Regions from separate parts of the Homo sapiens genome. Here regions 1, 2, 3, 4, 5 and 7 are each linked to region 6. Evidence: promoter capture Hi-C in 16 types of primary human blood cells and fetal thymus (Javierre and others, 2016). All regions are on one chromosome and are shown on one strand. The core of a region is centred on a gene start or on the middle of the fragment in contact, and the rest is flanking DNA. Distances in the headings are between cores, read along the strand shown.

Evidence for each region. The method cuts DNA at HindIII sites, captures the fragments that hold promoters and counts their contacts. A CHiCAGO score of 5 or more calls a contact.
Region 1: a fragment that was not itself captured here is called in contact with the fragment with the promoter of C4BPB in region 6 in 15 of 17 cell types (total CD4 T cells, naive CD8 T cells, M2 macrophages and 12 more); the score reaches 13.3 in total CD4 T cells.
Region 2: a contact is called between a fragment that was not itself captured here and the fragment with the promoter of C4BPB in region 6, in 8 of 17 cell types (naive CD8 T cells, non-activated CD4 T cells, naive CD4 T cells and 5 more). The highest score is 8.7, in naive CD8 T cells.
Region 3: a fragment that was not itself captured here is called in contact with the fragment with the promoter of C4BPB in region 6 in 12 of 17 cell types (total B cells, naive CD4 T cells, naive B cells and 9 more); the score reaches 13.5 in total B cells.
Region 4: a fragment that was not itself captured here is called in contact with the fragment with the promoter of C4BPB in region 6 in 6 of 17 cell types (naive CD4 T cells, naive CD8 T cells, total B cells and 3 more); the score reaches 9.4 in naive CD4 T cells.
Region 5: a fragment that was not itself captured here is called in contact with the fragment with the promoter of C4BPB in region 6 in 9 of 17 cell types (monocytes, naive CD8 T cells, naive B cells and 6 more); the score reaches 10.3 in monocytes.
Region 7: a contact is called between a fragment that was not itself captured here and the fragment with the promoter of C4BPB in region 6, in 4 of 17 cell types (erythroblasts, M2 macrophages, megakaryocytes and 1 more). The highest score is 12.2, in erythroblasts.

Annotation. Positions count from the first base shown.
Region 1 is chr1:207,449,966-207,452,767 of GRCh38, forward strand. No RefSeq gene overlaps it. Among named protein-coding and RNA genes, the nearest start is that of CR2, 3.0 kb to the right of the region's middle. The HindIII fragment of the contact is 3,516 bases long and covers 1-2,802 here.
Region 2 is chr1:207,427,760-207,430,459 of GRCh38, forward strand. No RefSeq gene overlaps it. Among named protein-coding and RNA genes, the nearest start is that of CR2, 25 kb to the right of the region's middle. The HindIII fragment of the contact is 3,250 bases long and covers 1-2,700 here.
Region 3 is chr1:207,468,016-207,470,715 of GRCh38, forward strand. It overlaps CR2 (complement C3d receptor 2), which reads left to right. Exons shown (of 20, transcript NM_001006658.3): 3 at 512-700; 4 at 785-884; 5 at 1,135-1,217; 6 at 1,680-2,087. Among named protein-coding and RNA genes, the nearest start is that of CR2, 15 kb to the left of the region's middle. RefSeq lists an enhancer at 1,262-2,461. The HindIII fragment of the contact is 246 bases long and covers 1,269-1,514 here.
Region 4 is chr1:207,522,060-207,524,841 of GRCh38, forward strand. It overlaps CR1 (complement C3b/C4b receptor 1 (Knops blood group)), which reads left to right. Exons shown (of 47, transcript NM_000651.6): 5 at 1,552-1,950. Among named protein-coding and RNA genes, the nearest start is that of CR1, 27 kb to the left of the region's middle. The HindIII fragment of the contact is 887 bases long and covers 937-1,823 here.
Region 5 is chr1:207,379,823-207,382,522 of GRCh38, forward strand. No RefSeq gene overlaps it. Among named protein-coding and RNA genes, the nearest start is that of CD55, 59 kb to the left of the region's middle. The HindIII fragment of the contact is 9,153 bases long and covers 1-2,700 here.
Region 6 is chr1:207,087,387-207,090,254 of GRCh38, forward strand. It overlaps C4BPB (complement component 4 binding protein beta), which reads left to right and starts at 1,474. Exons shown (of 7, transcript NM_001017365.3): 1 at 1,474-1,560; 2 at 2,096-2,203. The coding sequence starts at 2,146. The HindIII fragment of the contact is 12,500 bases long and covers 1-2,868 here.
Region 7 is chr1:207,564,151-207,566,942 of GRCh38, forward strand. It overlaps CR1 (complement C3b/C4b receptor 1 (Knops blood group)), which reads left to right. Exons shown (of 47, transcript NM_000651.6): 23 at 1-84; 24 at 1,688-1,773. Among named protein-coding and RNA genes, the nearest start is that of CR1, 69 kb to the left of the region's middle. The HindIII fragment of the contact is 1,317 bases long and covers 729-2,045 here.

The DNA of each region.
Region 1 (2,802 bases), core at 104-2,603, 360 kb after region 6:
CATTGTAAAATATATAATGTGTTCAATGGAGCTAAGTAGTAAGAGAAGAAAAATAGACCAAAGAAGGGGATATGAATGGAAAGGGAGGTAAAAGTGTAAGAGGATATCTAGGAAAGATCTCACTGAGAAGGTATCTTCGAGTAAAGACTAGAATGAAATGAGGGAGCTGGCCACTGGGGCTATTCAGGAGAAAAACAATCTGGACAGAGCAAACAAGACCCTCCGAGGGCAAAGGACCCCAGTCAGAGTGCAAAGAATACTAGAGCAGCAAAGGCCATTGTGGCCAGAGGGAGAAAAGAAGGAGAAAAGGGTCAAAGATGAACTCAGAGAAGTTAAAGGAAAGCAGATCACATTGGACTGAATGGATCATAGTTATGACATTGCCTTCTACTTTGAATGAGATAGGAAATTATTGGAGGGTTTGGAGCAGAAGGCAGTGATTTCTTTTTTCCTGACAAACATGTAAACAGGATCACTGCAAGATACTAGACACCAACACACTCATCTACAGAGGAGTTGAGTTTTTGTGTTGCTGAGAAGTGTTTATTAATAAAAATATATTTGGGAAATTTATGAGGGCAGACAAGAATAAGCATGAAAAGAATCATGAATCTAACTGTAAAATAAATGAAACAATACACGTGCAAGAAGAAAACATGGATGAATTATTGTGTAACCTGGAGAATGGTTTTTAAAACCATGGCTCCTAATCCAGATGCAATAAAAGAAAAGATTTATCAACTTGACTGCATTAAAACAGACAATGCTTACAAGGCAAAACGATGCCATAAACAAAGTCAAAAGACAACTGACAAACTGGGAGGAAACATTTGCAAAACACATCCAGAATAACAATCCTAATATATATAAATAAGTCTCAAACATTGAGAGAGGAAAAGGCAAATATACATGATAAAAATATATTTTATAAATGTTCAGCGTTACTCATAGGGAATGCAAATTAAAGCTACACTGAGATAAAATGTCTCATTTATTAGACTGACTAAAATTTAAAACCATGATGACAGCACATTAGATTAATGAGGTGCTCTCACACAGTTTTGTAGGAATATATGTGGTACAACTCTTATTAAGGAAATTTGGCAATATCTAACAAACCTACATATGTGTTTACCATTTGACCCAGCAATCCCACTTCTAGGAATTTGAACTGAAGACATGCTTCTAACAGCAGAAAAATAAATATTCACAAAGTTACTCTTTAGAGCATTAAAAACAACCAAACTGTCCATACATAGGGAGATGGTTGAATAAACTATGGCATATCCACACAGTGAAGTATTGCATGCAACTGTAAAAATGAATGAGGAATATTTGAATTTGTAGGAAATAGTGGATTCCAGCATATTTGTTAAGTTAAAAAAGAAATGTGCAAAAGAATACCTATAGCATGCTTTTAAAATGTAATAAAAAAGGAGAACTAAGAAGACAAATGTGTAGCAGCTCATTTGAGCAAAACTAAGGACAAACCAGAAACTACTGAAATTGAGTACCTATGGTGGAGAGGATAGAGGTGATGGAGAGAAGTGACATTTCCCTTTTATTGTGTCTTTTTATATCAATCTGACATTTGGGACTACGTTAATGTTTTATTTAAGCAAAAAAAAATCAAAAAGATTGAGGGGAAACTAAAATAGAATACAAAGAGAAACAAATTAACAGTATTTTGAATGAATAACAATCACACTGAAGAGGGGGAATAATCTGAGTAACTTTGGAACACAACAATGCTGTTTTTATATTTTCGGGCTATAAACAAAATAAAACTTTAAAAACGAGTAGATTTGATTTCCATCATAGTATAGAAATAGCAATTTTAAACTTCTTTCTGTGTATTCTAGGATTAAGCAAATAAGTAAATATATTGTGGATCTAGGTGTCTCACTGTTGAAGAAGGGAGTTACACATGCAGAAAGAGGGAAGGACAGAATGAACTCTATGCTAACGGACTGAAATTGGAAGAATCACTGTGAATTCATGACATATATAAATATAGATATGGGAATGGATATACATATATATATATAATACATATCCTTGCTCTGTCTGCTGAGAGGGTGCGGAAACAATGATACTCCAATAAAAATGAACACACTTAGCATCCAATTCTGGCATCTAAATGCCATTCTCTGCCAGAAAGAACCAGCATTCCTTGGAGAAACAGCAAATTCCAGTGTCAGGTCTAGAGGTGAGTCTGGAGCATTTTTTTTTGTGTGTGTGCCAGAAAGTAAGGAAGTGCTCAAAGAACAATAAGAACAAGTCAAAATGACATAGGAACTATTTTGAGGGCTCCCACTGGCCCGATCAGGGAGAATTTAAGCATCAAAATAAATAATGGTAGCCATGAATTATGACCCATTGAGTAAATAAATAAAATTCATATTGATATAGTTTATGCTGATATAGATAAATGAATAAATAAATAGAGAAGGGAAAACTTTTATTTACAGTAAAATGCCAACAGATGAATATAGAAGTAATTATTAAATTAGGAAAAAACACCCTTTGACAACCATCATAGTAAAAATTGATTCAAGAAAGGATCATCAATAGACGCTAAAATTTGTGGGTAAAAATTTGATGAAAAAATGAGGAATTTACATAGTTTTAAAGTATCTCCCTATAAAATACTTATTAATTACAAAGGGAAAAATACTGAGTCTACACTAAGAAACATGGCAGGCACCATCTTAACTAAGTGATCAAAGTTACCACCACCAGTAATAGGACAAATAGACAACATATGCCTCCCCGTAAGGATAAGACATCCTTTCTGGTATT
Region 2 (2,700 bases), core at 171-2,670, 340 kb after region 6:
ATTTTAAGATAGAGATGGTAGCTTGGAATATGCTGGCAGAAGATATGGGAAGTATGGATAAAGAGGTATTTTGAACAAAAAATAGATGGATCTCAAAGATGGATTAGATATTGGAGAATGAAAAGCATGAGATATCATGGATGAACCTGAGATTTGTAAATTAGGTGACTGGATGCATGATGGTACTATTCAATGAGATTAGAAACATTGGCAGGAACCAATAACTTTGGAGGGAGTGTAAGAATTAAAGAAAGAGGAAAGATACATGAAAGGTGGCTTGACAGTTAAGGACGGGTTTATTTTAGAGAAAACAAACATGAGAGGGGCTTCTGGCTGAGTTAGGTTAGAGCCTACTTTCTTAGAGACTAAGAGTTTTTAAGGATTCAGGGTGGAAGAGTTTATCAGAGGCTTGTACTCCTTCTGTGTTTCTTTGTTGCACTTATCTGGGAGGGAGAGCTTTGTGTCTGTTCCCATACATCTTCCTGCAGCTGCAGGCATACCCACCCTCCTCCCAAGTCTGCTTTTAGCTTCCCTTAGTGCACTTAAATGGAAAGGAATGTGCTTATTAAGGCCCACTGTTTTACTGGGGCCCATTGTATGAGGGTGAAGTTTGGCAGTTACCCAAGAGACTTCCCCACCACCTCCCTCTGTGCCCCAGCTGTCTTATCTGTATTTTACTGTCTGCTCTTTCTGGGCACTTGTTGTTAGAAGAAAAGTGATTTCCTTGAAATGCATGAGGCTAGAAAAAGAGCTGGAACTTAAAGTGGCAGTGTTTGTCCAAGATGATGGTGCTCCTGCTCTGTCAGGGAGGACTGAGTTTGGTGTTTGACATATTGATACTGAAGTATCCACATGGAGAGGCAAAATAAGGTATACAGGGTCTTAGGCTTAGAAGACAGGTGTGAGCTCAATTTAGAATTTTTCAAGTCATAGACGTAATAGATACATTTGCCTGTGGAGATATAATAGAATGTGAAAAGAGCCCAGGATTCAGCCTCGAGAAACTCCAACATTTAATCACCAGACAGAGGAGGATAAACTGGAAAAAAAGATATATATGTATATAGAGAGGAAGAATGACCAGAGAGCTAAGCAGATAACCAGCAGATAATGATATCTGGGGAAGACAGCAGAACAAATTGTTTCAAGAAGAAAACAGTGGTTAATGTCAAATTCCACCAAGAACTGAAAAATGTTCATTGGCTTTGGCAATATGAAGGTGATCGTTAGTCATAATGAGAGAGACAGAGGCTAAATCAAAGTAGGTTGAACATTAGTAAAAGGTGTTGAAAAGGACAGGCCATCTGTAACTCTTTCAAGACATTAAGAAATTTGGCTGAGGCTGGGCACAGTTGCTCACACCTGTAATCCCAGCACTTTGGGAGGCTGAGGTGGGGAGATCACGAGGTCAGGAGATTGAGACCATCTTGGCCAACATGGTGAAACCCCATCTCTACTAAAATACAAAAAAATTAGCCGGGTGTGGTGGTGCGTGCCTGTAATCTCAGCTACTTGGGAGGCTGAGGCAGGGGAATCACTTGAATCCAGGAGGTGGAGGTTTCAGTGAACTGAGATCAAGCCACTGCACTCCAGCCTGGGTGACAGAGCAAGACTCCGTCTCAAAAAGTTAAAAAAGAAAAAGAAAGAAAGAAAGAAAGAAAGAAAGAAAGAAAGAAAGAAAGAAAGAAAGAAAGAAAGAAAGAGAGAAAGAAGGAAAGAAAGAAAGAAAAAGAAATTTAGCTCTGAAAGTGAGGAGAAAGGGTTAGAAGTTGGGGGAAGAAAGTCTTTTGAGATTTTTTTTAGCTCTTTTAAATGTCACGGGGAATGATCCAATGTTAGAACACAGTTGAAAATACAGGCAAGAGTGGAATTGTTTGATAGTTAAATGTTTCTGAAAAATCAGGAAAGAGTAGAATCCAAGACCTCATGTGAAAGAACTGACCTTCAATAAGAGAAGAGAGAAAATGGAAAAAAGAAAAGATGAATGCAGATGGAGGTTCCTAGAGTTGCTAGCAGGAAATTGGGAGACTAGATCTCCGACGGCTTCTCAGTGAAGAAGGAGGTGAGAAGACAGGCAGAAAAGGGTCAGTTATGGTTGGAAGGGTGAGGAGTATAAAGAAGATACAAAGTAATCATTGATAAAGTGAATTAAAAAGAGGAAAACAATGGTAAGGTTGCCACACAAGGTTGAGTCTATTTGAAATTAGTTATCCTGAATTTATCCACCAGTGCAACCTGCCATGTGGCTCTATCTCAGTGCTTAGGTAAGGAAAGCAGAAAGTAACAATGATTGAGGTTTGGGATTTTCTAAACAGTTGCCATAAGGAAGCAGGCAAAGGAGTTTGTTACTGGCAGGAGTGCTGTTGAACTTGTGGTATAGACTTTTGACTGATTAAGGAAGGAACTGAAGAAAGAGTGGGCAAATAGATTAGAATAAGGGGAAAGGCGACAGAAAGTTCTCATGAAGTCAAACGAAGGTCAAGCAGTTTGACACTGAAATAGGTAAGCTGAATGCAGTGGAGATTGTATGTAGACAGCAGGATGTCTGAATTAGAGATTTTGGAAGTGGTGCCATATTAGGACATGACAAAGTCTAGGGTGTTACCAAGGGGGTATTTTGTTGGAAGTATCTGCTTGAAATCATGTTAAATTTAAACCTCACTCTCCAAAGTCAGTATAATTACACTTATAATTTTTAAT
Region 3 (2,700 bases), core at 142-2,641, 380 kb after region 6:
GACTTTTTTTGGTAATTGAAATTTTTCACAAGGCAAATGTAATTCATATAGTGTAACTAAAAATGAAAAATAAGGTACTATTTATGGCTATTTGTGGCATAAAATGGATACACTTAAACCACACCTGTTTGATCTTTAAAAGACTAGGTTGAAAGTTAATACCAACTGGCTACCATAGATCATGTGTCATTTATTTAAATCCATATCCTAAGTCAGCATCTCGATCAAGCTTGTCCAACTCGCTACCCGTGGACAGCATGTGGCCCAGGATGGCTTTGAATGTGGCCCAACAGAAATTCATAAACTTTCTTAAACCATTATGAGATTTTTTTTTTGCAATTTTTTTAGCTTATCAGCTATCATTAGTGTTAGCGTATATTATGTGTGGCCCAAGACAATTTTTCTTCTTCCAATGTTGCCCAGGGAAGCCAAAAGATTGGACCCCCTTGATTCTAGATTGTGAAGGATGCATCATCTGACGGCTTTTTTTTCCTGGTATGTGTGTGTAAAGTTTTCCCTCTCGAGTGTCCAGCACTTCCTATGATCCACAATGGACATCACACAAGTGAGAATGTTGGCTCCATTGCTCCAGGATTGTCTGTGACTTACAGCTGTGAATCTGGTTACTTGCTTGTTGGAGAAAAGATCATTAACTGTTTGTCTTCGGGAAAATGGAGTGCTGTCCCCCCCACATGTGAAGGTACCCTAAATTTACAATCTATTTTAAGAATCTGGGCTGTTCTGTTATTTGCCATGCATTTCTCATCTTTGGTTTGTTTTTTAGAGGCACGCTGTAAATCTCTAGGACGATTTCCCAATGGGAAGGTAAAGGAGCCTCCAATTCTCCGGGTTGGTGTAACTGCAAACTTTTTCTGTGATGAAGGGTGAGTGTCAGGATTATTTATGAGATTTAATTCATTTGTCTTGTGTGTGCGTGGTGTGGACTGTGAAACCTGCAGAAGTCTCCTCTGTGAGGATCTCTGGGCAGTCTGGGGTAGGGTTGTGAGAGGTAATGCTGATAAAAGGAACAGATGCACACTGATTGAAATGAACTTGTCTTGAATTGTAAGTAGAGGCTGCTGTTCTTCAGCACAAACTGCCTAATAGTTCTGAATGACAACCTTCTGTCTCCAGGTATCGACTGCAAGGCCCACCTTCTAGTCGGTGTGTAATTGCTGGACAGGGAGTTGCTTGGACCAAAATGCCAGTATGTGAAGGTAGGCTAGGCAACTATGGTCTGACAGCACTGCATTCTCAGCTTAACTAAAAGCTTTTGGTTCAGTCATTACCTTACAGACTCTTACTGAACACAGAACTCCTAGAGATCTTTAAGGATATGTGCTTCACCAAAGCATCCTTATTTTTTGTTTCCTCAAGTAAAATGGGGTTCCTAGGCTTTCCCTCCTCTGAAAGCTATGCAGACCTTCTAAGTAGGTAGACCATATGCATAAAGAAAATAGTGTATTTGGTAAAAGAAATCAAAGGATCAGCAGAGTACATATACTCAGGAATGAAGCTTGAGAATCAATCTTCTAAATTATGTTGCTTTAGCTGCCTTGACTGATTCATTATAGACTCGGATATCACTGTCCTAGGATAGTGGTATCAAGCAGCATCTGGGGCATTCTTTGTTTTCAATACACCTATGATCTTGTCATTTCTTTCTGCAATTCCCCTAGAAATTTTTTGCCCATCACCTCCCCCTATTCTCAATGGAAGACATATAGGCAACTCACTAGCAAATGTCTCATATGGAAGCATAGTCACTTACACTTGTGACCCGGACCCAGAGGAAGGAGTGAACTTCATCCTTATTGGAGAGAGCACTCTCCGTTGTACAGTTGATAGTCAGAAGACTGGGACCTGGAGTGGCCCTGCCCCACGCTGTGAACTTTCTACTTCTGCGGTTCAGTGTCCACATCCCCAGATCCTAAGAGGCCGAATGGTATCTGGGCAGAAAGATCGATATACCTATAACGACACTGTGATATTTGCTTGCATGTTTGGCTTCACCTTGAAGGGCAGCAAGCAAATCCGATGCAATGCCCAAGGCACATGGGAGCCATCTGCACCAGTCTGTGAAAAGGGTGAGTGTTCCGGTACTCAGAAAAGGTGCTTCTGATTCGTTTCTGAAAAATTAGAAGAAGGGGTTGTGGGCTTTAGGTAGGGCCTTGTCCAGTTTATACTTCCCTCAAATCTACTACATCTAATCAATATAAATTTTGTAGAGGGCATTCTTATCACTAGCCCCCCACCATTGTTTTATTTTGTGGGAATATGCTTGGAAAAAATGTTAGGAATCACTAAGTTTCTCATTTCTATAGGGGAAAAAATGAGGAGAAAAATGCTTGTTTGTCTTAATAGTGACTTCTTAAAAGAGAAGTCATTCAAGCCCTCATTCCTAGGGATATATCAGAATCTCCCATAAAAAACATACAAGATGATTCCTTATGAAGGGAAGAGGCAGGAGAGGAGTTGCAGAACCCAGTGGAAAGTGAACAACATCTGCAGCAGCCTCTGTGCAGAAAACAACAACAACAACAACAACAAAAGATTGGGAAACTGTGATCTAAAATTACCCAAAGCTGGTCTGCAACATATGTTCTGTATCATACAGCTGACGCCAGAGTGGAATTATAGCATGAATATCAATTTCTTTGGCTCAGTTTCTTTCTGTGGTTGTTTACTTAAGCAGTTATG
Region 4 (2,782 bases), core at 130-2,629, 430 kb after region 6:
AATTGTGTGTGTTATTTTATCTCTCCAAATATCTGGTTATCTTTGATTGTGTATCAGGAATTCTATTTGAAAACTGTGTCTGTAGAAATAATTTCAAGGCCTTAGATAACCCATCTTCTTCCAGATGGAATTTTTGTCATTGTTTCTGCAGGCATCTGGGGACATTAGCAATCTAGGACCACTCTAATTCAGTCTCAGGAACTGTGATTTTCCAGGGCCACCCACAGTACCAGTACTTGAAGTACTAGTTCCAGTCTCTGAGACAGCAAATTTATTTTCAGTTAACCCTGATTACCAGGGCCTAGTTCTTGTGGCCTCAGAACACATCAGAAGGTATTACCAGGCCTTCCATTTGGGGCAGGCCCTGGACTTCCATTGTTGTCCCTTAACTTCATGAGAAAATCAAAAGTCTGTTCAGCCTCTCAGTTGCCCCGTCCTGATTCAGCTGCCCATTCCCAAACAATAAGCAGCCCAGTTGCCAAGCCCAAATACCCAGCTCTCAACTGGATTCTCATCTTCTCCTAGATCATGGCCCAGGAATGCTTCACTAGTTTGTTAGCTTTCTGATGCTTTAACAGATAAATATTTTTAATTCTCCAGTATTTCTAGCCTTTCTTGAGGGTGGATGGTTGGAGCAATATTTTATTTGAACTGTTGAGATTACTATTAGTAGAAGCAGAGCCTGAAAAATTTTTATTTTTAATTTTAATTCATTCATTTCTAAATTTATCCAATTAAATTCACTCAGTTTTAATTTCAAGTGTTTTGGGATTTGGGTTGAAGAAATTTTGTTCTAGTTTATAGCAACACAGTATACTATGTACTACTGCTATACTTTAAAATGTATTTAGGGGTTTTTGTGGACTAATATATGATCACTTTTACACAGATATCATCTTATGATATCAAACTTAGATTTGATGAAATGAGTTGGTAAGCTTCATATCTTTTATATGTTGTGAAACCTTGAAATTACATTTGGAAGTATATTTTTGAATGAATTTTGGTAATTTGTATTTCCATTTATATCATTTAGATTTTCAAAATATTTAACCCCCTGTAGTCTACAGTTTTATAAATATTCTCATATACATAAAAATATGTTTAAATTCTTTTTCCTACTGTGTATATTTGTGTTTTCTCTCATCCCTTATACTTTATCTTTTAGCAAATGTTTTTGTATTTTATTTTTCTAAAAAAGCTAACCTTGGTTAATAACAAAAATGGAAATTAAGAAAGCAAACGGAAAAGAGTAGGAGAAAACTGTATAAATACTATAACACTATGATCAAAGAGCTATTTAAAATGAAAAGAATGTGGATTGAGTTAATACATGCATGCAAATACTATAGGAAATCATATCAGTAAGAAAGGCAGGACACATCATATTATGCCCATTGAAGCTACAACTTTATAAAAATGTACCTATGTGTTAGCAAAGATTAAAAGCAAATAATGAATGTAAAAATAGCTATAGTTTAGTGACTCATGAGATTTCTGTCATTCATTATTTAAACTGACTGTTATTTATCCTGCTCTTCCTTTTTCCAGGAATTCCTTGTGGGCTACCCCCCACCATCACCAATGGAGATTTCATTAGCACCAACAGAGAGAATTTTCACTATGGATCAGTGGTGACCTACCGCTGCAATCCTGGAAGCGGAGGGAGAAAGGTGTTTGAGCTTGTGGGTGAGCCCTCCATATACTGCACCAGCAATGACGATCAAGTGGGCATCTGGAGCGGCCCCGCCCCTCAGTGCATTATACCTAACAAATGCACGCCTCCAAATGTGGAAAATGGAATATTGGTATCTGACAACAGAAGCTTATTTTCCTTAAATGAAGTTGTGGAGTTTAGGTGTCAGCCTGGCTTTGTCATGAAAGGACCCCGCCGTGTGAAGTGCCAGGCCCTGAACAAATGGGAGCCGGAGCTACCAAGCTGCTCCAGGGGTGAGTCTGACTGAGGCCTAGAAGGGCCCTGCCAGTGACATGCGTTGCTGTTGGATCAGGAGATTAGTATTTGTTCAGGGGGAGGGATGTGTGCTGAGCAGGGTCGAGGAGCAAATTTTCTAGGTAGTGAACATGAAATTCAGAAGGTGTGTGTACATGCACATGTGCTGAAATTGCGAAGCAAAGCTCAACCTGGGCAAGGGATATGATGTTTCTTTGGGGTTCTTATAAACAGATCTATCAATTACCTTTGAGTATAATAATGGTTGATACAAAATGAGTGATTCCTCTGGCCGGGCACTATAATACAGGCTACATGTGAATTTTAATCCTTAAAACAAAGTTATTAGGTAGTTACCAGTTGTTCTATGTTTGTCTGTATTGTTTTGCTTGAGATACTGTCTTGATCTGTCACTCACGTTGAACTGCTGTGGTGCCATCATGACTTACTTCAACCTCCGCCTCTCTGGCTCAAGCAAGTCTCCTGCCTGAGCCTCCCAAGTAGCTGGGAATATAGGTGCATGCCACCATGCCTGGATAAGTTTTTTATATATTTTTTGTAGGGATAGAGTCTCACCATGTTGCCCAGGCTGGTCTCGAACTCCTCAGCTCAAGCAATTCACCCACCTTGGCCTCCCAAAGTGCTGGGATTATAGGCATGAGCCACCGTGCCCGGCCTCTATGTTTTATAGAGAATATGTGCCTTAGACACATCAGATAACATTCTGAGACAGTAACTTGCAGACAAAACTGGATTGCAAGTCCACCTCACTCCAGAGCCTTGGCTTTGCTCATCAGCATTCAGTCATGAAATCAAAACTTACTCTAGATA
Region 5 (2,700 bases), core at 53-2,552, 290 kb after region 6:
CAAATCATTAAATTACAAGGAATTTTACATTTAAAGTAAGTAAATAAAATATATATTTATGTCAAATAAAATTTGGAAATAGATTCAGTTCTATAAGAGATTTTAATATATGATGAAGAAATAATAGATTATGGTATGGTTTGTTAAATTAATAGTGCTGCCATAATTGATAATTGATTAAAACAATAATCCCTTGCTTTGTAAGTTTTCATAAAAGTTATTTTCTCATTTTAATAGAATATGTGTTGTGACAAGTGGTCCACAACCCTAGATAACAATGAAAAACATATCATTATTATTTTTTGAAGTGATATTAAGCATTTTACTCTGAAATTGCTTTAGTATTTTTAACTAATCATAGTGTTTAAATTATGATGGTTTATTCTCAGTTTTAAAATTCATTTCATCAATACATTGATAAAAGATTGTTTCAGAAACTTTAAAATATTTAAAGGTAGAACTTATTTAATATGTGCTTTTAATTATGTCTCTTGATGATTATAACTATTCTTTATTTCAGCATGAGTTTTACAAAATTTTAGTCCTGTTTTGGTGAATCTATGAATGTTCCCACTTTTAAAGATACAACATTTAAGTGCCATTTGCATCCATTTTCTTTTTCAGTATTTTTTTCCTCAATATGAAAGGATACTTAAGAGTTTTCTGGCATTTCCTGATGTTTCTCAGTTAAGACTTTTACTGCACTTTTTTTTTTTTTTTTTTTTTTTTGAGATGGAGTCTCACTCTGTCACCCAGGCTGAAGTGCAGTGGTGTGATCTCAGCTTACTGCAACCTCCGCCCCCTGGGTTCAAGTGATTCTCCTGCCTCAGCCTCCCAAGCAGCTGGGACTACAAGCACATGCCACCAAGCCTTGCTAATTTTTTTTTTTTTTCTGTGTTTTTAGTAGAGACGTGGTTTCACCATATTGGTCAGGCTAGTCTTAAACTCCTGACCTCGTGATCTGCCTGCCTCAACAGGCATGAGCCACCGCACCCGGCGACCTTTTCTACTATATCAGGTGATGTTCCAGGCTGTAGCACATTGATATAATCTTATTTTCTCAGAGATTCAGAAGATTCATATTAATAATAGTAAAAAGAGGAACATTAAGAAACATATTCAGAATTTGTTGGATGTTTATTTTCAATATTAATACACCTTATTCACTAAGTATCAAAGTACTACATATTTACTAGTCACATATAAATCTCACTCTAACCATAATATCAAATCAAACTAGTTAGAAACAAGCAGGTATGAGCAAAAGAAGTGTTATGATTTAAATTATCATTAAAAAGATAGTTAATATGCATATTGGATAAATATCCACGTTAAAACAATTTTAAGAGTGAGGCAAATCGAGTTTTAAAATTTTTACAAGCCATTATTTTATTACACAGGAATCTTATTCCTGCACCAAGGAAAAAGGAAGCTCAATTAGCTCATTCAGAACTTTTCTTCCTTAAGTTCATGTGACATTACTTCAATTATATCGTGAATTTAAAGGAGGACATCTCAAAATATTATTCATAGTTAACAAATTCCAGGTCATTGGCATTATTATATGGCTCTGTGTTCAATACAGGTTATTCTATTGATTTAATTTGCTTAAATGTTTTCACTCATTCAAAATAATGACAAATTGAAATTAAATATATCTTATTTGAAAAGAGTTGACATATTTCCACTAAGGATTCTTCTTTTCCAGGAACAGGAATAAGGACAACTTGACACTTTGATCTTCTTTACCAATAACTGATCTGTTAAAAATAACTTGGGTACTATGCTTACTACGTGGGTGACAAAATAACCTGTACAACAAACCCCCATGACATGAATTTACCTATATGACAAACCTGCACATGTACCCCGAACCTAAAATAAAAGTTTAAAAAACAAATAAATACTTTGGAAGGTTGAGGCAGGTGGATTGCCTAAGCTCAGGAGTTCGAGACCAACCTGGGCAACACGGTGAAACCCTGTCTCTACTAAAATACAAAAAATTAGCCGGGAATGGTGGTGTGCCTGTAGTCCCAGCTACTCAGGAGGCTGAGGCAGGAGAATTGCTTGAACCGGGGAGATGGAGCTTGCAGTGAGCCGAGATCACGCCACTGTACTCCAGCTCTGGGTGATGGAGTGGGACTCCATCTCTTAAAAAAATAAAAAAAATAAGTAAATAAATAAAAATAAATGGTCTGGTTACACATTTTTTTTCACTTCTTACGTAAGTTTTGGTAATTTATTTTTCTTAGAAAAATTGCTTTTGAATCCGTTTTTTCATTTATAAGAATAATTTGTGCCTATAATCACAGTACTTTGGGAGGCTGAGGCAGGCAGATCACTTGAGGTCAGGAGTTCAAGACCAGCCCGGCCAATATGCTAAACCTCGTCTCTACTAAAAATACAAAAACTAGCCAGGCATGACGGTGCATGCCTGTAATCCCTGCTACTTGGGAGGCTGAGGCAGGAGAATCACTTGAACTTGGGAGGCGGAGGTTGCAGTGAGCCGAGATCACACCACTGCACTCCAGCTTAGGTGACAGAGAGAGGCTCCACCTCAAAAAAGAAAAAAACAAAAAAGAATAATTTGTTATTTTATAATTATTTCAATTTCCTCCCTTTTTTGCTCATTTGTTTTTTCAATGAAAATCTACTGAGGGCATAGCAAGTTTCTAGGTACTGTTCCAATATTTAGTATAT
Region 6 (2,868 bases), core at 224-2,723:
AATTTGCATATTAGTTAAGAAAAGATAAGACATAAAAAATCATAAGGCAGCATGTGATAAATGGCAAGTGATCATATGGATTTTGGGGGCTGTGGTAGAGTTTCTGGATGACAGTTTTTTTCATTTATTTCTGCATTACTTTCATTCATTTAACAGACAACTGCTTTGCAATATGAAGCACCGTGGAAGGGAATACAAATACAAATCAGACACAAACCCTGTCCTGGAGTTAGCAGTTTCCTGTGGGAATAAAGGGGAGGAAAAAAACACCTTTCCTCTACCATATTGTATTCAGTGGCTGGGACCTGCAAATTAGACTAAGACAGATTAACAGGAGAGAAAATTCTATTTATACATGTAACTTGAGTACATGTGGGAAAACTCAGTGATAAGTAATTCAAAAAGTTGGTTAGAATTGGGGCTTATACATCATCTTAATAGGTGAAGGTGGGGAGAAGAAAGGCACTTACAAGAAAACAGATTATTGGCCGGGTGCGGTGGCTCATGCCTATAATCCCAGCACTTTGGGAGGCCAAGGCGGGTGGATCATTTGAGGTCAGGAGTTCAAGACCAGTTTGGCCAACATGGTGAAACCCCATCTCTACTAAAAATACAAAAATTAGCCAGGCGTGGTAGCGCATGCCTGTAATCTCAGCTACTCGGGAGACTGAGGCACAAGAATGGCCTGAACCTGGCAGGTGGAGGTTGCAGTGAGCCAAGATCATGCCAAGACACCATCTCAAACAAAAAAGAAAACAGATTATTTTTTGGAAAGGCAAGTGGGTTTTCAGGGGAAAAGTAGGAAATTAGAAAGTTTTGTGATAATGTTTGTGTATATAAGTACGAGTGTTCTTTCTGTCTCCTTCAAGGCCATGAAATTTCTCTGGAGAAGGAATTTGAAATATGTTTTACTCATGCTCTCCCCTCCAGGATAGACCTACCCTGAAAAGGAATTTATGGCAACCTTATCTCCAAGGTTGCTGCCTTTAGTCAGATAAGGAAAGCCCCCAAAATCTCTGTTCCTTTCCATATCACTGAATCTCAAATATCTTCAGCTTAAAAGAATCTTAACGCCAAATATTTGGGGGTGGCATATCCTGATTCCTTTCAGGAGAAAGACATAGATTAATCATCACAAACAGTAGTAATGGATGGAGAAGAGAAGAACATTTGCAACCTTACTGTGTCCTTAATGCTTTATTATTCTATTAAAACCTGAAATTTTGTAGGAATTTTTCCCCAGTTTCATAATTACAGCACAGAGAACCAACCAAGGGTTATAGTAGTCACAAGCAAGATGATATGGGATCCCTCAAAACAATTTTACATGCCTTAATTCCTGAGACCAAAGCATTCTCCTCACCTCTCTCTTTACTCATTTGGTTAACTCTGGACTCAGGCCAAATCCTGTCCCTGGAAGAGCCACAAAGTAGGAAGCCTGGGTACAGGCCTGGCAAGCGAGAACAATGTGTCACTGCAGGACTTTGGAGCTCTCAGCTTTGGAGTCAGTTAAGACCAGTTCCTTGCTGGGAAGCCCTAACTCTGGAGGGACAGAGACAGGTAAGGTTAGTTTACTTCCTTGAGCTTTCGTCTTCAGTGCTGCTTACAGCCTTAGGATATCTGGTATTCAGGAAAGGAGGATGAGGTAGCATTCAAAATTGTGTTCTACCTGGGCAAGAACCAGGGATTGACAGCCCGTTCTCTTTCCCCAGTGCTGGCCAGAGTTACAGAAGTTGGACTGTAAACATTGGCAACTATTGACAGAAGTCAAGGTCATGGCAAGACCATTTGGCCCATGTTTGTTGGGGAAGGATAAGCCTGCGTTTCAAAAAGACTGGTCAACTGGATTTGCATTCCCAGAAACCAGGAAATTTCTGAAACTGAGTTTTAAACCTGGCAACTCTTTTACCATCCCTTTGTATTTTTGCAGTTCCTCCCTATACCAGCTTCCTTACAGCTGTTCTGATTTCCTGTCGTAAGATTTTTTCTTTTCATTTTCTCCAGGGAGGGTAAATCAATATAACCTCTTCTCTAGAGAGGAGGTGGTTAGGTTGGTCTTAAGCAGTGTTAGAAGATCTATTTTTTTTCAAACCAGGTGTCTGAGCTGGGTGAATTCCAGCCTGGGGAGAGGACTTTGATCACCAGATGTTTTTTTGGTGTGCGTGCTGTCTTATGGTTGCGTGGCGAGTTTCTGCTTCAGATGGTACGTATGCTTTCCTTCAACTCAGCTTACAGGCATTTGGTGTCCTTTTGCGGTGTTTTGAGGAACTCTGTCTAGGGCTTTAAGGAAGTTTACATTTATAATATCTTTATTCTTCTATTGAAAAATCTCAAATTGGCCTAATGCTCTGCACTCAATAGGAGCTTAGTGTACATTTAATGATAACCCTGATCTCTGAAGTGGGTGGTTACTGTTTTTTTACTTTCCCTTTCTGTTCTGGGAGCAAAAAGAGTACCAATTTCAAAATCCTGGGAGGTCTTACTTGTTATAAACTCCAGGATCGCTATTTGTGTAGGGGACTATTTGTTTAGAAGTGGACAACTTGTGGTTGAATTTGAGTAAAATTCCTGTTATACTTTTGAAAATAAAACTTCGGAATTCCGGCCGGGCGCAGCGGCTCAAGCCTGTAATCCCGGCACTTTGAGAGGCCGAGGTGGGCGGATCACGAGGTCAAGAGATCGAGACCATCCTGGCTAAGACAGTGAAACCCCGTCTCTGCTGAAAATACAAAAAATTAGCTGGGCGTGGTGGCGGGTGCCTGTAGTCCCGGCTACTTGGGAGTAGAATACAGAGTACTTGGGAAGAGCACAGGAATCAGGATCAATAATCCAGCAAAAAGACATGAGAATGGGGAAATCTAATAAGGG
Region 7 (2,792 bases), core at 137-2,636, 480 kb after region 6:
CATGGGCCAACTTCTTAATGGCCGTGTGCTATTTCCAGTAAATCTCCAGCTTGGAGCAAAAGTGGATTTTGTTTGTGATGAAGGGTGAGTATGAGCTTGCCTGACCTGCTGGACATTGAAATTGGGGTTGGGAATCAGTCTAAAAAGGGGAGATTTGGTGTGGCTTAAAAGAAAGACACACACACACACACACACCTTCAGAGAGATGAACTTTCGAAAGTATACCTAGGAAGAAAGGAAAGAAACATATAGAACTAATAACATGAGATATGAAGAGGAAACTGGAACATATATTAACTGGCAAGTTCAAAGGCAAGTATAACTAGTGGTTATGAATATATAGGTAACACATTAAGCAAAAAATATCAGCCAGGCACGGTGGCTCACGTGTGTAATCCCAGCACCTTTGGGAGGTTGAGGCAGGCAGATCACCTGAGGTCAGGAGTTGGAGACCAGCCTGGACAACATGGTGAAACCCTGTCTCTACTAAAAATACAAAAGTTAGCTGGGTTTGGTGGCATGTGCCTGTAATCCCAGCTACTCCGGAGGCTGAGGCACCAGAATCACTTGAACCTGGGAGGTGGAGTTTGCAGTGAGCCGAGATGGCACCATTGCACTCCAGCGTGAACAATGAGTGAAACTCCATCTCAGGAAAAAAATCATATTTTACAAGCAAAAGGGAATATGAGTAATTTAGAGAGTCCCAGGAAAAATTGCAAGTAATGAAAAGCTTATTATTAAAAGCTAGGATCCTTTAAGAATCATTTCAGTAAATTCTTTAAACCATCAACAGTGAAATTTGTAATAGGACTGAAAATGTAAAAATCAGCATTTTTTTAAAAATTCAGTCATATATCTTCTGGCTAGTCATGGGCTCTGGGCTCTGAGCTGGGGTCGTGATGGCTGCTGTTAATATTCCCAGCAAGGTCATTACCTTGTTTATGTCCATCTAGTGCTCTTCACAGCGTGCACATCTCTACACAGGAGCTGACCGGCATGGGCAACAAAGCACCTGATCCCATAATGTAACACAGAATCTTGGCAGCCTCCAAATGCCAGCACCCAGTAAGAGTTAGGAGGGCATCAGGGTCCAAAAGACTGAGAATTTTCGACAATTGCATACAAAAATCATGTCCTCTCTTCTTTCCTTTTTCCCCTAGAATATTCATGCTTACTCTTCAGCAGCCCAAACTGCCCTTTTGAGCCTTCTTCACGCCATCACAGATGTGGAGATGAAAGGACAATCTCTGTTCTCTCGCCAGCTATTTCCCACTTTTCCACTCCAAACTGGGAGCTGTTTTACTTGCTGTTCCAGGGTCAGAGTTAGGAAGGCATTACATTAGAAGACTGGGTTTCTAATAACAACAATGAGTGATTTATCAGGTTATCATGGAGTAATCAGTGAAACTCCAAGCCTGGGTCCTGGGTCAAGGGGATGGCGCCTATGTCATGACCACCTTTTTCAATTCAAGCAGGACTATCATGTGACCAAGCTACTACATTTTGCCATTCTATATTGTTCCCTTCTGGAGGCTGTGATTTTTCCAGAATAAGGTAGCCTGTGCAACTCTGCCATCTGCTGGCCTCAGATCCTCAAAATCCTGAAATTGGGGCTGGGCCTTAGATTGTGAACTAAGTGTCCTCTTGGCTGAAACAGCTCACTATTCACTCCTATTTTCTTCTTTAGATTTCAATTAAAAGGCAGCTCTGCTAGTTATTGTGTCTTGGCTGGAATGGAAAGCCTTTGGAATAGCAGTGTTCCAGTGTGTGAACGTGAGTAATAGGAGCAACATTTCAGGCCAATCTCTCCCCTTCATCTGTTCACTATTTGTCCTATGGCCTCCCTCAATGTGATTCTTCAATATTCTAGTCTTAATTATCGATTTAAAAATAGTTTATTTTAATAATGTTTGGTTGTGAATCAATATGTACATCACCTGTCTTTGCAACCATCTGATCTGTCTCTGTCCTTCTGCATTCTCTGTTCTAGTGCGATAAATCCTTTGGTCTTGTGCTCCTAGGTCAGGAGAGATTAGATAATGTGAAGCTTTAACAATTTTCTTTCTTTCTCTAGTTTTTTCTTTCTTTTTTCTCTTCCTTCCATCCTTCAGTTCTTTCTTCCCTTCTTCTCTCCTTCTCCCCTTTCTTCTTTCCTTCCTCCCTTCTTTCTTTTTCATTTTGTTCTCCCATCAAAGTGCAGTCAGTCTACAATTTATATATATATGATAATACACAAATATTGAACATGGCTTTATTTAATCAATATTTATTGATCACATACTTTGTGCCTGATGTTCATCTAGCCACTGGAGTTATATCAATGAACAAGATGGATGAATTCCCTGTCCCCATGTTGTTTCTACTTAGGTGGGGAGAGGGACAAGAAAAAAAATAAATTCAATGCTATGAGACAATAGAGCAAAGCACTGAGGAATGAGGCAAAAATGGGGAGCAACATTAGACAGGGTGAGCAGTTTGAGACTCCTTAAATTCTCAAAACATGTACCTAAATAATTTATGCTGAGAGATTCATAAATAATAAGTCATTTTTTTAAAATGAGCCTCATATGTTCAATAATCAGTAGACTACTGATTTCTCCTAGTCTACCCATGTATAATTTCCCCAATGGAAGATAGAACTTTGCTTCAATTCTTGATTCTAATGATTGGAAAACGTGTTTCTTTAGAAAATCATGAAATTTTACTAAAATGTTTATGTTGTTAGAAATATACTTGGACATCTTACAGTGATTTTTAGAGTAAAATTTTGGAAGAACATAACTTATATAGAG